Regions from separate parts of the Homo sapiens genome. Here regions 1, 2 and 3 are each linked to region 4. The links are contacts of gene promoters, found by promoter capture Hi-C in blood cells and fetal thymus (Javierre and others, 2016). All regions are on one chromosome and are shown on one strand. The core of a region is centred on a gene start or on the middle of the fragment in contact, and the rest is flanking DNA. Distances in the headings are between cores, read along the strand shown.

Region 1 (4,017 bases), core at 591-3,090, 540 kb after region 4:
TTTTGTTTTGTCCTTAAAAAAGGAAACATTCTCTGGAATGTTTCTTCCTGAGATATGGCTAGATATGGTCAGGTGGCTGGATACAGCCAGGCTCTTGTCTCTGTCTCTACTCTAAGAAGTTGTACTAATTGCTTATATTTTAGCTAATATTCCTAAAATACAAGGAAAAATATCTTCTACATATTCTCCTGGTATACCTTGAATAATAGGGGTTTTTTTTTTAAAGAACTTTAAGATCTCTGGATTAATAGAAATCATAGAATTTAACATAGTAAGGATATTGTAATTGCTTTAAGTACTTGACAAGTTGTTTAACTGTTCCTTTAAGCATTTTAGTACATATCATATATATTTTTTTGTGGGCCAGCTAATTTCAATAAAGGATAACCTTATGACAGATATAAGGTCTTTTCTAACAAAAGCCTAAAAATTGAAACCAAGGTATTAATATTGAAACCAAAAGTAGTCTTGATTATTTTAAATAATTTTGAGGAAAAATGGGGTATTTTAAGTAATGTATAATGTGGTCAATAATATCTTACTTTATTGCATATGTTTGTTCAATCTCCCACCCATGTAAGGTCCCTGAAGACATGAACTCTATCCTACTGGTATCCGTATCCCCAGGGACCAACCAGCCCTATGTTTATGAATGCTTGCATTGTGGAAGGGAGGAAGGAAGCAGCTTATAGATCCTACCCAAAACTCCTTTGCTTCCCCTTCCAGTTCTGTGATCTATGAGTCTAATTAGTAGCTGGATTATGTGTTTGCTTTCAACAAATGACTGTTATATTTCTGGCGGACAGAGAGTTCAATTCCCACTGGATTTCTGTAGAGAATTATACATGGAAAGGAGGTAAATGAGACATGGGAATGGCATCCAAGTTTTGAAGTTAGCTAAAATCAACCTGTGCAGTGGGGATGAAACATACAAACCAGATTTGAATTTCCTTTTTAATTTTATTAAAATTACTAATAGTTCTTAAGTTTGCAGCCTTAGTCCTAGCATCAGAGGACATCTCTTTTAAGTTTATCCAGCGGGAACATCTTTTTCTGATTCACAAAGTTTCATATTGGCTAGTGTTTGGCATCCCATTTTAGGCTACAAAATGTGAGCCTTTAAGCAGAAGAGAAATAATCAAGAGTGAGATGCCTGCATATTTTTCTATAGATATAGGTAGACTTTTATTTAATTAATTTTTATGTAATCAGATGAAGTATCTTTCTGAATAGCCAATAGAATTTAAAAGTAAAAGCTTCACTTTGATGAGATATTATAGAAAGCAACATATTAAGTGCCCACAATGTGTCATACATTGTGCTGTATTTTCCATGTTCTGGTGAGGAACTTTTATTAACATCTATCCATTTTTCTTTCAATTTGCAGAGGATGAAAATGTGATATAGAAATATTAAGTGAATTGCCCCTAAGTTATTGTTTTAGAAAGAGGTGGAGCCCTTGCTTATGCTACCACAATGACCCTCTCTTCACAAAGCAATTAAAGGTCTAAAGAGATTATTTTAAAATTAGCTCAGAACTAAGCCTAGGCAGGTTTTCAGCAAATATAAGCATTTAACTAGGTTTCAAATTCACAGACTATTTTAGTTATAAAATTATTCATAGAAGCACAAATTATCACCGGAGCAAACATAATGAAGATTTGTATTGCTTTTCTCTATTGGGAAATGTCCTATTGGAAGCAAAAGGTAACTGTTCGCTAGAGGGAACGAGCTGTAGTGATCTGTTGCAAAGTTTGGGCGTGATTGGCCCCTGGGAGCTTCCTGTGTTATGATTTAACTCGCGGAGGGTGGGGCCTGCCCGCAGAGGCTGCTGGTGATTGGATGGGCGGGGCCGCCGCTCACTCTTGGCCAAGAATGTGGTTTGAGGCTCTGCGAAGTTACAGAGGCTCGGAGGCGCTTGCAAAAATGTGGCTGTCAGAGAGGGAAGTGCACATGAATTTGAAGACAGCATTAGAAAGCGTTCCGCCCACAGTTTCTCTGTTCTCAACGGCTCAGTTTTAACAGGATAAATTTTAAGTTAAGGTATGATATTTTTTCTCTCTCTGTACAAAGGACTTAAAAGGAGGAGGAGTCAGAGATGTAAGTTCCTGTTTTTACAATAACTCTTTTGTGAGCTCCACCGTGGTGTAAATCGCAGAATCTACTTTTGTTCCCATGTATTTAATGTACACCATTGGCATATTGAACCAGATTTTTATCCTGCGTATAAAGGTTTTGGTGGAATTTTTAATGGTGAATTTTAAAGATTTATTGATATGAGTGCAGTCTTTTAAGAAATTATTTCTTGAGCCATAAAAACCCGAAATTTACTTAGAATGTAAGCTGTTATATGTAGTTAACTTTTCAGAAAGATTTCAAATGGGTATTTTGGGAGTGTAGGGAAAAGAGTTTGCAAAATACCATAAAGCTTTACCAGTAGTAAATTAAAAACCTTCCAGTTAAGCTGCCACTCTTTTGTTCATCAGAAATGAAGAGACGTTTCTTTCTTGTATTTGGGGTAAGCAAATACATAAAATTGAGTAATATTCTTTTATAATCACATGGGTCTTAGACTTGAGATCATTGGTGTTCATTTTTCTGACTGATACAGTTCCCTCTTTCGATAACTTTCTCTTCATTTATTGTTGTATTCCTCTGATCCTGTGGGTACCAACTTAAGAGTCATGAAGGTGTGAGTGGGAGGGCAAAGGTTCTCTGGGGAATTATTTTGTCTCCATATGAACAGTTGCCTCAGGAGACATGCAAGTCATTTGATGGATCTGAAATTCAGTTTTCTCATGTTTAAAAGGAAGGGTTAGACTAGATCATTGGCTCTCGATTTGCTTTCCCTAGCACACCTGAGAAATACAATCCATTCTTTTCAGTTAACAGTAGTTCCCTGATGCCATGACTTCAGGGTGCGGGAGGGTGTGTGGGTGTGTGAAAGCTCTGTTTTCCACCATGGGTTAAGTGTAGTTGTAGAGGGGTATACCTCCTTAGGGCCCTCCATTTTGAGACTCACCGGGCTAAGTGGTCTTTGAGGTCCCTGTCAGCTCTCAGTTTATTGAAAAGCCAAATGTTTGTTTGTGTAAGAGATTGAAAGTGAATTTGAATTTCAAGTATTTTATCTATTTCATACCTCTATTTTCTTCTAAGAAACCTTTTTTAAAAAGTAGATTTAATTTTTTTATTAAAAAGGCATTACTTATCTACTATAAAAGTTTTTTAAATATAAAAATACTCATTACAAAAGGAAAAAATCCCCATGTAATCCTTCCACCCAGGTATAATTCTTGTTAGCATTTTGGGATATAGTTTTTAAGTCTTTTTCTATAGATATATGCCATAACCAACTAATTTTGGAAACCTTTTTTAAAAGACACATTTTAGGCTGGGCACGGTGGCTCATGCCTGTAATCCCAGCGATTTGGGAGGCCAAGGCCGGCAGATCACTTGAGGTCAGGAGTTCCAGATCAGCCTGGCCAACATGGTGAAACTCCCGTCTGTACTAAAAAAAACAACAAAAAGTAAAAACAAACAACAACCTGGGTGTGGTGGCCCGCACCTGTAGTCCCAGGTACTTGGGAGGCTGAGGCAGGAGAATTGCTTGAACCCAGGAGGCGGAGGTTGCAGTGAGCTGAGATCGTGCCTCTGCACTCTAGCCTGGGTGATGGAGTCAGACTCCATCTCAAAATAAATAAATAAATAAATAAAAAAGAGAGAGAGAGACAATTTAATGCAACGCAAATAACACTGACCTACCTAGCTGTGCCCTTGGAAAAACCACTTAACCTCTTTGATCCTCAGTTTTCTCACCTGTAAAGTGGAAATGATTTCCGTATCAAGTTATCCTGAAATTTAAATGAAAACTACCCATGTGAAAACAATATAGGGCCTGACACAAATAGATGCAAATTATTATATTTATTTTCTATTCTTCCTTTAAAAATGTTGTTAAGGGTTATTACTTTTAAAGGAGTTTAAGGAACTTGGAGTTTTGTTGATTTTTTTTTTTAA
Region 2 (3,947 bases), core at 837-3,336, 610 kb before region 4:
CCTTTCCTCCCTGCCTTCCTCCATAATTCTGTGACAAACATGGATATGATGGCTAGAGTTTCTCCTTGGACCTTGAAGTCAAAGGGCACATCATAGAGATGGTGGAGGGATGAATTGGAAAGAGCTGGGTGCTATCACATGACCAATGGTATGACCACCACTTGATTGGGAGGTAAGTGGCAGGTAAGGGTTGAGATTAGTTGTCAATCTAATCATCCCTTGCCTCCACACCACCTCAGGTAAAAGATCTGGAAACTTGGAAAGATCTCAGCCACCAGGCTGATGACTTCAATGCTAGAAGAATGATACTTTGTTATTGGACATCTCTTTAGAATTGCTCTTCCTGGTTTCTTTCATGGGCAACAAGTCCAGCCACTAGCAGCCGTGGACTTTCAAGTGAACAAGAAATAAGCTTTCACCCCATTTAAGCTACTCTGTAAGCACTCTCAGCTGTGCCTAATCATAACTGAGACCAAGTTCCTCTAATTCCTGACATGAATTCTACAGGGTGGGAGAACTGAGTCCCAGAAAGGGGATGTCCAAAATTCGTAATTAAAATTGAAAAATTAAATTAAAATATAGCAGGCTTCCCAACTTCCAGCTTTCACTATATTCATTCTCCTACTCAATAAACTTTTCTTGAACACAAACACTGTATCAGGCAGTAAACAGGTACTGAGTAAACAGAGCTGAGTAAATCAGGTTACTCTTGTCGGGAGCTCACGATCAAGAGAACAAATAGTAAAATTACAGTCTGAGAAGTGTTATACACATGCACGCACACGTGCACACGCACACACAAGGTAATGTAGGAACCCAAAAGAGGGAGGAGCATCTAACTGCTCTCAGGAGAGAATTCACAAGGGAGGCAACACTGGAGCTAAATCCTTAAGAAAGAATAGGAGTTTTCCAGTTGTGGAAGGGGGAAATGGCATTTTAGGCAAAAGTATGCAGGCCAGAGAGAACATGGAACAGGTGCTAGGCATAATAATGTCCTCCTAGAGATGTCCAAGTCTTAATCACCAGAAGCTGTGAATACATTGCCTTCCACAGGAAGTGGGGATTAAGGTTGCAGATGGAATCAGGGTTGCCAGTCAGCTGGCTCTGAAATGGGCAGATTAGCCTCAATTATTCAGGTGGGTCTAATATATAATCACAAGGGTCCTTAAAGCAAAGGAGGAAGCCAAAAGCTGATCATGGTTGAAGAGTAGATAAAGTGTATGAAAAGAGGTTGCAGATATGGGGGGGTCCATGACCATAGAGGCTTAAATTTCAAGGCAGACATTTTGAAATGCATAGGCAATGGGAAGCTGCTGAAGGATTCTAAGGAACGAGTGAAGTGGTCAGATTGCATCACAAAGAGGTCGCCAACTGGTGCAGAGGAGGAACTGCCAGAAGGCAGGAAGACTCCTGGAGAAGAAGTTGCAGTGGTCCTAGTGAGCCCCCCTGGTGAGCTGGGGCCACAGGGGGGCTGCCTCCTCTGGGCCCTTAGGACCCATGGGCCCTCCGCACCACAGCACTGGCTGCCAGGGGCCATGTTATGTTCCCCACTCCTTTCCTAGTGTCCTTCTGGAGGCAGCCTCTGCAGTGAAAAGCCGGACTAGAAGAGAGGTGGGCTTGAGACCTGCTCTACCATTTACTAACTCTGGGGCCTGAACCAAGTTACCTCACCGCTCCGCGCCTCAGCTTCCTCATTTGCAAAGCAGTGATGACAATCCTCTTTCAGGGTGCTTGTTTGGCATGACACTTACCAAGCCTCTCCATGCTTCCTATGAATGGCTGCATCATCCCGAAATGCTCCCTGCTGAGTAGACTATTCTCCCCGTGCTTTTAAGACTCCCACGTTGATTTCAGGAGGAAGCAACCAAACTGCAGACTTGGCCCTCGAAGCTCTCTGGAGCTGTGCAGTCTCCGGGCCGGTGTCCTGCACTATTGCTCAGAAGGCTGGGCGCCATCTAGAGGGCAACAGCGGCAACAGCCAGAAGGCAAGGAAAGCCGCAGTGATTCCCAAACATAACCAAAGGGGATGCGGGGAAGCCTGCTTCTGGCTCTGTGGGTGGATTCTATAATAAAATGAAATGTGAGATCATAGAACCTTTTAATTCTAGCATGTAGGAATTATGAAATTATAGAAAAATTAACTCTCTAAGCTATAGGGGTGGAGTCTTAGAATCACACAGTCTTTGACTTTTAGAAATAGAGAATGCAGTATTTCTAGTGTCTTCAGTTCTTATACCCCTGGGTTACCCCTTGCCTCAATAGAGTACAAATTCAAACTTTGAACATTGACACCCGGATCTCAGCCTCCAACACCTCACCTGCTTGACCGCAGCTCCTCCTTTTCTGACCAGTCACCCCCAGAAACCTTCCAAGGATGGCTCACCACCAGCCTCTACTGCCAGAACAAAAGCCCCTTGATGTCAAGGACTATGCCCTTCACCTCCTATCACCGGCACAGGGCCAGGCTCACAGTGGTGCAGGAAGGCAGCATGATCCCACTGTCCTCAACAGCAGAAGCCTATAGGTTCAGATCCCAGCTCCACTACTGGCTAGCTGGAGCATAACTTAACTTCTCTGGGCCCTTTGTTATTTATCTGTAAAATGGGAAATATCATAGTATCCACCTCACGAGGATATTAGGAGGCTAAGTTAACATAATCTATAGAAAGTACTGAGAAGGATTTCTGATACGTGATAAATGCTCGTGATAAATGCTTGGTAAATGTTAATGGTTTATTTTATTTTATTTTATTTTATTTTTTTAGATGGAGTCTCACTCTGTTGCCAGGCTGGAGTGCAGTGGCACGATCTCGGCTCACTGGAACCTCCGACTCCCTAGTTCAAGCGATTCTCCTGCCTCGGCCTCCCGAGTAGCTGGGATTACAGGCACACGCCACCACGCCCATCTAATTTTTTGTATTTTTAGTAGAGATGGGGTTTCACCATGTTGACCAGGATGGTCTCGATCTCCTGACCTTGTGACCCACCCACCTCGGCCTCCCAAAGTGCTGGGATTACAAGTGTGAGCCACCACACCTGGCCAATGATTCTGTTTTTGTTTTTTTTTGTTTTGTTTTTTTTGTTTTTTGAGACAGAGTCTCCACTCTGTCGCCCAGGCTGGAGTGCAGTGGCACAATCTCGGCTCAATGCAAGCTCCACCTCCCGGGTTCATGCCATTCTCCTGCCTCAGCCTCCCGAGTAGCTAGGACTACAAGCACCCGCCACCACCCCTGGCTTTTTTTTTTTTTTTTTAGTTGAGAAGGGGTTTCACCATGTTAGCCAGGATGGTCTCCATCTCCTGACCTCGTGATCCGCCCGCCTTGGCCTCCCAAAGTGCTGGGATTACACCCAGCCACCGCGCTCAGCCCAATGGTTCTTGATTATCATTAAAGTTGGGTTGAACTCTATGGGCAATATGGCAGCAAGGTGCCTTAGTTCGGAGACCTGACCAAACAGTGAGGGAAGCAAACAAGCAGGAAGAGGACCATTGGATATTGAGCACCCATGTGTGACAGGCGCATGCTAGGTGCCTTGCGTGTGGCTTATTAACTTCTGAAGGCAGGGCTTATGCTGTGTGCCAGCAGCTCAGTGCCCTGTTCTTGGACATTCTGATGTACCTTCCCTTCTTCTTTCTCTGTCATCTTTTGCTTCTCCATAAAACTTTCTCTGTCCCTCCAGGCTCTGGTAGCTGAGGGATTATCTCATCTCTCATTAACATAAAGGGAGTTAATGTCCAGCAATTAGCTAAAGCAAAGATAAAGAAAGCTTTCAATTCCTGTGCTGATTCCAATTAGTCTTGGCTGCCTGGAGTTCTAATCCGAGAAGTTACCCAAGGCCGTGTTGGTGTCCATGCATAAGAGTGCTGAAATAAATTGGTGATGTCTGCCTTGAGATTGGTGGGAATGAGTAGCAGTATGTGCGCCTTATACCCACCAGACCTCTTTGTG
Region 3 (4,254 bases), core at 1,500-3,999, 620 kb after region 4:
TTTGTATGTTAACCTTCTTTTGGGAACAAGAGTGTAAGTTAAATAAACTTACCAATAATAATATATTTAAAGATGTAAGAGTAGTTGTATGGTGCAGTTGCCATGGTGGCACTAAAAACAAAGAAATCTCTGTTACTTCAGAAGGAAAGCATATACAAGTAATTCAAACGGATGACTGATATCCTTTAAAGGTAGAAAAGGACACTGAATACAAACAAATGTTGGTTACAGTAAGTCAAAATAAAACTGCATTTCACAAACTGATCAAATACACAAATTCTCTTGGATGAATGATGCTTACACATTCTCATGTGCTATCCACAGAAATATAAGAAACCATTTATACCACAACTCCAATATTTCACTTAATATCCACTAGAACTTAAAAGTATAATTTAAAAAAAATCCAATAAGTATTAATCTGAAAATTGTCAAACAAAAAAATCTTTATAAATTTAAGTTAAACATCACTATAGTCTCTTCTCCCCTTAAAGTCCCCTTCCCTGTTAACTGATCAAGTAAGTTACTAATGATCTACTTGTTCAGAACTCTGATATTAAACAGAATGGTATATAAAGGAACCACTTAATTTATAAACACAAAACAACGTTTTTACTCTACTTTAAATCAACAGTTAGCAGCGCAAAGAGCAATCGTATGATTTCCAAATCAATGTTGGAACTAGACTGAATCACATGAAACTGTTCTTCCTATAGATTTTTCAAGTCAAAGTTTATTGGCATTTTCATATAGCTCAACCTAATACAGGACTTGCAGATTATCACTCACACACACACACACACACACACACACACACACACATTTTTTGAAGACCAGGCTGGTCTTGGGTCTTGAACTCCTGGCCTTAAGCGTCCCTCCCATCTCAGTCTCCCAAAGTGCTAGGATTACAGGCATGAGCCACTGTGCCCAGCCAGATTAACAACATAGTAAGTGCTTCCCATACACTATTCTAGGGACTGAAAGAAATAATGTCATAAAATTGTACTTATGGTTGCAAAATTTGAAAGCTTGTGTATTAGAAGATATTTCAAAAGATCACAGCCCATTTCTTACCCTCAAATAGACTTAACCTAAAGAATTCTAATTTCTCTTCTACTTAAAAAGAAAACAAAAAACTTTCCAATTTATTCAAATGAATTATCTGAATGTGTAAGACACGTGCTAGGTCCTAGAGAGAAACAAGGGGCTGAACTGTAAAACTGGTAATAACTTTCAATAAAGTTTATTCTCAAACCAGCTTTCAGCTTAAGACAAAAATTATTTATACATATAAAGATTTCACCCATTTAAAAAAATCTGACTTACAGTATTTTTAAGCCTGGCTTTTAGTGTTTCTGTCAATGTCACATTACACAAGCCAGACATTTAATATGACTGGAGAAATTTATTTACTGAAATTATCACCTTACTATATACCATATTTCAAGCAAAAGTTCTATATAACAACATTGAACCCGTAGAAAGAATATATATTTAAAACAAGTGTATTATTATAAGGGAAGAGGAAGTTGTTAATTACAGTAAAGTATTAATCACTTCCACACACTACAGTCTTCTCACTTAGCTATCTGTATTACATTTAGTGAAAGTAGAAGCCTTGTTACCCATTCCAGTTTGGCATGTTCTAACACATTTATAATCAGTCTCCTGCATCACAGAAAACTCCCTTAACCAGTTCTTTCAGGAAAGGGAGTTTTTCTAGTTAGATTAACTGATTCTGAACATCACAACAACTTTATTCCCTTTTCCAGGCACTAGGAACTCAAAACTTTTAAGAATGAACTTGGTCCTGAGACTAAAACTGGTCTGGATTATTTACCTGATCTCTGAACCAGATGCCAAACACAAGGGGGAAAAGTAATCTCTTACATTAAAAATATTTAAAGATTATTAACTTCTTAACTTGAATTCTTCCGACTCTTCTAATCAATTTTTAATTCTTCTAAATTCTTTCCCCATTCAAACCTGGGTAAAAGTAATCACTTAGTCACCTTCAAATTACTGTCTCTTCTGTGCTCTTCTCCCTTGATTTTCCTAATTTCTTTCCCTCTTCTAACTAAAGGTTGTAGCTGTACATACTTTGCTCCTTCTATTTTATGTTAAAGCTATGACTTCTAACAATCCCAAATTTCTACTTCAAATGCTTTAAAGACTATCATAAAATTGTGACCCAATTTTAGTTGTACTAATTTGTGTACCTGCTAATTATCATACATTCATTAAATGTGAGATAACTAATTTTGAAAATGTATCTTAAAATTACAAACATTCATATAGTAGAAACTATTTCCAAATAAAAGAAATGATCACTATTTCGGATTTAATACCAGGGCTCTGTCTCACCACACCACACATTTTTCTTGCTCGTTTCTTTAAAAATTACAAATAAAAACCATAAAAGCAGAATTAAAGGAAAACTACTCAAACTTACTAATTTCAGTAAACAAAGGCAGAAAACATTTAACACTGTAGCCACCAACACTCACAACAGGTCTTCCCTTTCTTATTCTAAGAAGATACTGTCTAGATTTAAATATATTCCCATAGTTGACTGATATTAATACATTTCAGTCAAAAGTATTTGCAGTAGAATTATATTCAATACTAAATAGGCTTAATGTTGCTTTAACAAAAGATTTCTCAGTCTCATTTCTTGAACATGAAACATACTATTGTTAAGGTGAGGAATATATTTTTACCTAACTTTGGAAGGGAAAAAATTCTTCCCCTATTATTTAACAGTACTTTTGCTTTACTTAGAGAACTCTTGAGTCTAAAAAAAAGGACAGGAAATGCTGGTCTGGTTCAAACTCTGAAAACATGAGCCCACTTAACATTACAATCCCCATAAATGAAAAAAAAAATCCTGGTAATATTCTATAACTTGTATACAACTACCGGGACAATTAAAATTCACTTTATTCCACATTTTACAGAAAGTATTCGAATCAAGTTCATATGTAAGTAAAAGATCTTTATTGCCTTTAAAGGAAAAAAAGTACCACATATTTAGACAACAGGCATTTAACACATAATCAACAATTTGCAAACTAATAAGAAATACAATTGTGAGTTACTATTTATTGGGTACTTGACATATGCCGGGCAATGTGCTAAATATTTTACATACAATTTCATTTAATCCTTACTACTATCCTATAACATAGTTAATTATTATCCTCATTTTACAGATGAGGACACAGACTCAAGAGGTAACATGCCCAGGTCACACAGCCAAGTCTGTACTGAACCTAGGACTGTTTTAACTACAGAGATCCCCTCTTAACCACCACACCATCCTGCCCTCTCCACCGTCGTGCCTCCTCCACATGGTTATCAGCTGTACCATGTAGCTCTGCAGTATTCACTCGCTTAATTATAATTTAATATTCTGAATAAGATACATGAATTACATTCAGAGGATGCACTGCAGTCAGAATTTATAGATATAAATGACTGGTAATACTAGTAATACTAACTTATAATACTATAATTCATTTACTTAGAAAAAGTTTCTTGAGAACACTTGAGAGTAAACCATGTAATGATCTATACTACTTTTTATAATTCTTACTTAATTCTCACAACTCTGCAGAGTCATTATCATTATGTCCATGCAAAAAATTAAAGAAACTGAGGTTTGGAGAAATTCACTCATTTGGCCAATGTTATAAAGTTTGTAAATGGTAGACCTAGAACTTGAACCCAGGCCTGATTCCAAAGACCATGATTTTCTCTAAGGTATTATTAGCTTATTTCAGGTATGTACAGGTAGACTGATAAAATAAAAATCAGAGAAAGAGGAAGGATATTAGTGCATGTAAAATTTAGCTATAAACTACCCTTGCTGCCAAGAGAAATATTTACTAAATGCATAGTAAACACTAACAACTGTGCCATGTATTCAACTGACTCCTTAAAAATATTAATATGCTTAATATTGCTTTAATAAAGGATTTCTCAACCTCATCTCCTGAACATGAAACATACCAGTTTTCACCACTGGGGAAACATACCATTTCACCACTGTGAAAATATACCATTTTTCACCACCATTTTCACCACTGTTAAGGTGAAAAATGTATTTTAAAATGGGGTACGCCATCTTGTAAAATTCTGCATATTTCTTTTACTCAACAAAATGATAGACACATTTTCATGTCAGTACATTTAGATCTAAGTGGTTACTGAACAAATATTAAACACTAATTATTGTTGTGACAAAAATAGAAT
Region 4 (4,110 bases), core at 1,498-3,997:
GAGAAGGGGGGAATAGGGAGTTACTGTTTTAACAGGGACACAGTTTCTGTTTTGCAAGATGGAGAGTTACGAAGATAGATAGTGGTGACCGTTGAGCAATAATACAAATATATTTAATACAACTGAACCATGCTTTAAAATGGTTAAGATGGAATGTATGCAGTATCTACGTCCTGCAAAGGCAGGGAGATGAGGGAAAGGAGAATATTTGCTGATCTGTTGAGTAGTTACTCTGGGTCAGACACTGAGCTAAACTTTTTAAGATTCATTTTAATCCTTATGCCAACCCTAGGCTTTATACCAACCCCTTTTACAGATGATAAACACTGAGGCTCACAGATGATGAGTGACTTGCCCCAGATCAAGGGGTTGTTAAGTAGCAGAACTGGGATTAAAACCCAGCTAGGCCTGGGACCCCAAAACCCAAGTGTCTGGCCAAAAAGCACTGAAATAAGAATGGCTATCTGAGAGAATAATAATGGAAGTTATGATAACAGCAATAAGCAGCATTAAAAGTATAAAGCAGCAGACTGTGAAGAGCAGATTTATATTTAAAAAATAGTTCTCACGCCGGGCGCGGTGGCTCACGCCTGTAATCCCAGAACTTTGGGAGGCCAAGGAGAGCAGATCATGAGATCAGGAGATGGAGACCATCCTGGCCAACATGGTGAAATCCCGTCTCTACTAAAATACAAAAATTAGCCACGCACGGTGGTGCACTCCTGTAATCCCAGCTACTCCGGAGGCTCAGGCAGGAGAATTGCTTGAACCCGGGAGGCGGAGGTTGAAGTGAGCCGAGATCGCGCCACTGCACTCCAGCCTGGTCACAAAGCAAGACTCCGTCTCAAAAAAATAAATAAATAAAAAATAGTTTTCAAATTGTAGTATAAAAAACTATTAGAGGTGCAAAGGACAATACAAGAGAGAAGCCATACTCCCAATATATTGGGGCAGTGGATGTAAAATAGATAGAAAAGGGCATGATGAAATATCACAGGACCCAATTAGACAGGAACTGCAAAGCATCTTAGTCTGTGCCTCATACATGAAGGTTCTCAATAAACAGAAAAACCATTTGTCCAGGTTTACCCAAGATAGGCCCTCTTTATGTCTGCTGCCCGGGCATAAATATTAATTATTTTCACTTTCCTTTTTTTTTTTTTTAAAGATAGAGTCTCACTTTGTCACCCAGGCTACAGTGCAGTGGCATGAACACAGCTCACTGCAGCATCAACCTTCCGGGCTCATGCAATCCTCCTGCCTCAGCCTCCCGAGCGGCTGGGACTACAAGTGCATGCCACCACGCCTGGCTAATCTTTGTAGTTTTTGTAGAGATAGGATTTCACCATGTTGCCCAGGCTGATCTCACACTCCTGAGCTCAAGAAATCGGCCCACCTCGGCCTCCCCAAGGGCTAGGATTACACAGGTGAGCCACCGCACCTGGCTCTTTTCACTCTTAAGTGTCCCAGTTAGCACAATAAATAACATGGTCACCCTTTCAATTAGGATCTGTTGACTAAAAGCAGCAGCTTGTCCATAGTAGAGCTGGATAAACAGTGCAGGTTCTCCGTCAGGGCTCTCCTCCTCTTCCCTCTACTCACTCTCCAACCAGGAGTCTAGGACAACCACAGGGGCCAGCCGTGGAGCAGAGTTGCGCTCTGTTAGGCCTTCCTACCAGACCCCAGCTCCACCAGCAATGGGGACTCCCACAGTCTCTTGGGGCAGGTCCATGGGAGGCCACTCTTGGCCATTATTCCCTGATTCATATCACCTTTGATGACAGTAGTAATAATGACACTAATGGCAACACAAGATCATTTTTTAAGCACTGATTATGTGGCAGGCACTACACCTGCCAAGCAAATGGCTCGACAGGCATCACCTCTTTTAATCCTCACCCCAACTCTGTTGGGTGGATATTACTAGCCCATTTTACAGATGGGAAAGCCGGTGAAATCACTTTACCAAGGTCACACAGCTAGTCAGTTTACAGGGCTGGATTTGAATCCAGTTTTGTCCAACTCTAGCCAAGGTTCTTAATCATTGCACTCCATTGCCTCCTGGGTGGCCACTATGTGACCCAAAAAGCAAAGTCTGGGCATACCGGCTACACTCTCTCCATAATGAAAACAAACTCTCAAACCAGAAGGAACCATCAGGTGCCCTCAAGGTCCCTGTTCTCCACCAATCCCCACTAACGGGATACTCCAAGTGGCCCCACCCTCGTCCTACTCTTTCAGAAAACTCCTTACCTGTTCTTCACACGCTCTACAAAGTACATGGCGCAATGCTACTGGCAATTGTGGTGCAGGTCGCGGCTCCCAGCCCTCCAGAGTGTCAGGTGGTGGGCCCCCCAGAGACCCTCTCCGAAGGAACCCACCCCACACACTGCCCCTGGCCAGACACCCTCAAGAGCAAACCCCAAGGCCGCGTTAGAACGAAATCCCACCAGCTGGAACCCCGGCCCGGTTACCACGACCACCAATGCCCCGGCCGCACCTGCAGCCGCTGAGCGTCCCAGGGACGGTGACGTCCTCTTCCAACACCAAGTCCATCATGGCTACAGAGGTGGCGACAGCGTTGGTGTCTGTGGCGGCGGCGCCACTAGTACCCCCCGCGATAGCGACCCGCCGGGCTCCCCAGGTCCCCGCCCCCTCCACCCCAGCTCTTGTTCAGACTCTGGCGGCGCCGCTGGAATTCAAACCACAGACGCCGCCATCTTTCCCGGCGCTTCTTCCTACGGAAACGAGGCGGGGTCACGGAGGCGCACGCAGTGAAGCCGACCGGCTGGCGCCAGAGGACGGGCAGGGAAGCGGGGATAGGTGCCATCTTAACTAAGGGCAAAGCATCCGTGCTTAAGCCAAGCAAAAATAAGAGACAAAAAAAGGCCGGCTGCCATTTTTTGTGAGGGCACTTAGGGAGAGGCGAGGGCGGGTGCCATCTTTGTTGAGGGCCAAAGCGGGCCCTAGTCCGTTAATTTACGCGGGAGATGGAAATGAATACAGCCACTCAGGAATCCTCAAAGTTCCTAACCTCGTGTTTGCTTTTCTAGAATAATGACCCCAAAACTTTGGGATTTGACCTTAAGTTGAAACTCAGATAACTGAGTGCTGCCTTGCTTTGGAAAAATACTACGTGCGGAATCTCAAGGCAAACAGTAATTTGCAGACTTAGTTTGAAGCAAATAACTCATTCCCATGAGCCAGTGGTCAACAGCACTCCCACTCCAGTCTCTCACCTATTGGTCTTTTATTACCATTAGGACTCAAAGGCACCTGTGGTCAGAAAACTGAGGGCCAGCAAGAGGAAAGGACTCTCCCAAAGTAATTAAGTATTGACAATGTCTTTCAACTGGAGTGGGGGTCTGCAGCTCCTGCCAACTAGATGAGGGCTCTCTGCATAACCCTGGCTGCCTTTCTTTTTTTTTTTTTTTGAAATGGTGCCTCTGTCGCCAGGCTGGAGTGCAGTGGCCCGATCTCAGCTCACTGCAACCTTCACCTTCTGGGTTTAAGCGATTCTTCTGCCTCGGCCTTGCGCCACCACACCCGGGTAATTTTTGTATGTTTAGTAGAGACGGGGTTTCACCATGTTGGCCAGGATGGTCTCAATCTCCTGACCTCGTGATCTGCCCACCCCGGCCTTCCAAACTGCTGGGATTACAGGCGTGAGCCACAGCACCGGCCCCTTGGCTGCCTTTCTTAAAGCACATAGCAATCACCAAACACTTAGATAATCTTGGCAGAGCTTAAGCAATGAAATTAACCTTCCCCTCCTCAACTCAGTGTTGCTCCTTCCTCTGCAGGCCCTTGTGAGAGAGCCCGATGAAAATAACTTGAAATGGTTGGTGAGTGGATAGATAGTGACTTTCCCAGTAATCTTGAACAATTCCCCTTTCACCCTGTTTCCTCATTCTTTTTTTTTTTTTTTTAAATAGAGACAGGGTCTCACTATGTTGCCCAGGCTGGTCTTGAACTCCTGGCCTCAAGCAATCCTCCCACCTTGGCCTCCCAAAGTGCTGGGGTTATAGGCCTGAGCCACTGCACCAGGCCCTCATTCTTCAGTTAAGTAATTAACCAATTATTGATACTTTTCAAAAGAAGCCTTCCCTA

The links. Contacts are between HindIII fragments. The CHiCAGO score rates a contact against its expected background, and 5 or more counts as called.
Region 1: a contact is called between a fragment that was not itself captured here and the fragment with the promoter of CDK5RAP2 in region 4, in 11 of 17 cell types (total CD8 T cells, naive CD4 T cells, fetal thymus and 8 more). The highest score is 12.0, in total CD8 T cells.
Region 2: a fragment that was not itself captured here is called in contact with the fragment with the promoter of CDK5RAP2 in region 4 in 1 of 17 cell types (M1 macrophages); the score reaches 5.2 in M1 macrophages.
Region 3: a fragment that was not itself captured here is called in contact with the fragment with the promoter of CDK5RAP2 in region 4 in 4 of 17 cell types (naive CD8 T cells, naive CD4 T cells, activated CD4 T cells and 1 more); the score reaches 8.9 in naive CD8 T cells.

What each region holds. Positions count from the first base shown.
Region 1 is chr9:121,119,909-121,123,925 of GRCh38, forward strand. All of the region lies in intron 12 of CNTRL (centriolin), which reads left to right. Among named protein-coding and RNA genes, the nearest start is that of CNTRL, 47 kb to the left of the region's middle. RefSeq lists enhancers at 1,507-2,008, 1,883-1,932, 1,963-2,162. The HindIII fragment of the contact is 1,172 bases long and covers 1,255-2,426 here.
Region 2 is chr9:119,967,343-119,971,289 of GRCh38, forward strand. It overlaps LOC107987122 (a long non-coding RNA gene), which reads right to left and starts at 2,203. Exons shown (of 3, transcript XR_001746919.2): 1 at 1,752-2,203. RefSeq lists an enhancer at 1,020-1,520. The HindIII fragment of the contact is 3,353 bases long and covers 411-3,763 here.
Region 3 is chr9:121,193,309-121,197,562 of GRCh38, forward strand. RAB14 (RAB14, member RAS oncogene family) reads right to left here. Exons shown (of 8, transcript NM_016322.4): 2 at 53-111. The coding sequence starts at 104. Among named protein-coding and RNA genes, the nearest start is that of RAB14, 6.4 kb to the right of the region's middle. The HindIII fragment of the contact is 3,446 bases long and covers 1,027-4,254 here.
Region 4 is chr9:120,577,420-120,581,529 of GRCh38, forward strand. CDK5RAP2 (CDK5 regulatory subunit associated protein 2) reads right to left here and starts at 2,748. Exons shown (of 38, transcript NM_018249.6): 1 at 2,501-2,748. The coding sequence starts at 2,559. RefSeq lists enhancers at 2,420-2,982, 2,836-2,965. The HindIII fragment of the contact is 6,111 bases long and covers 1-4,110 here.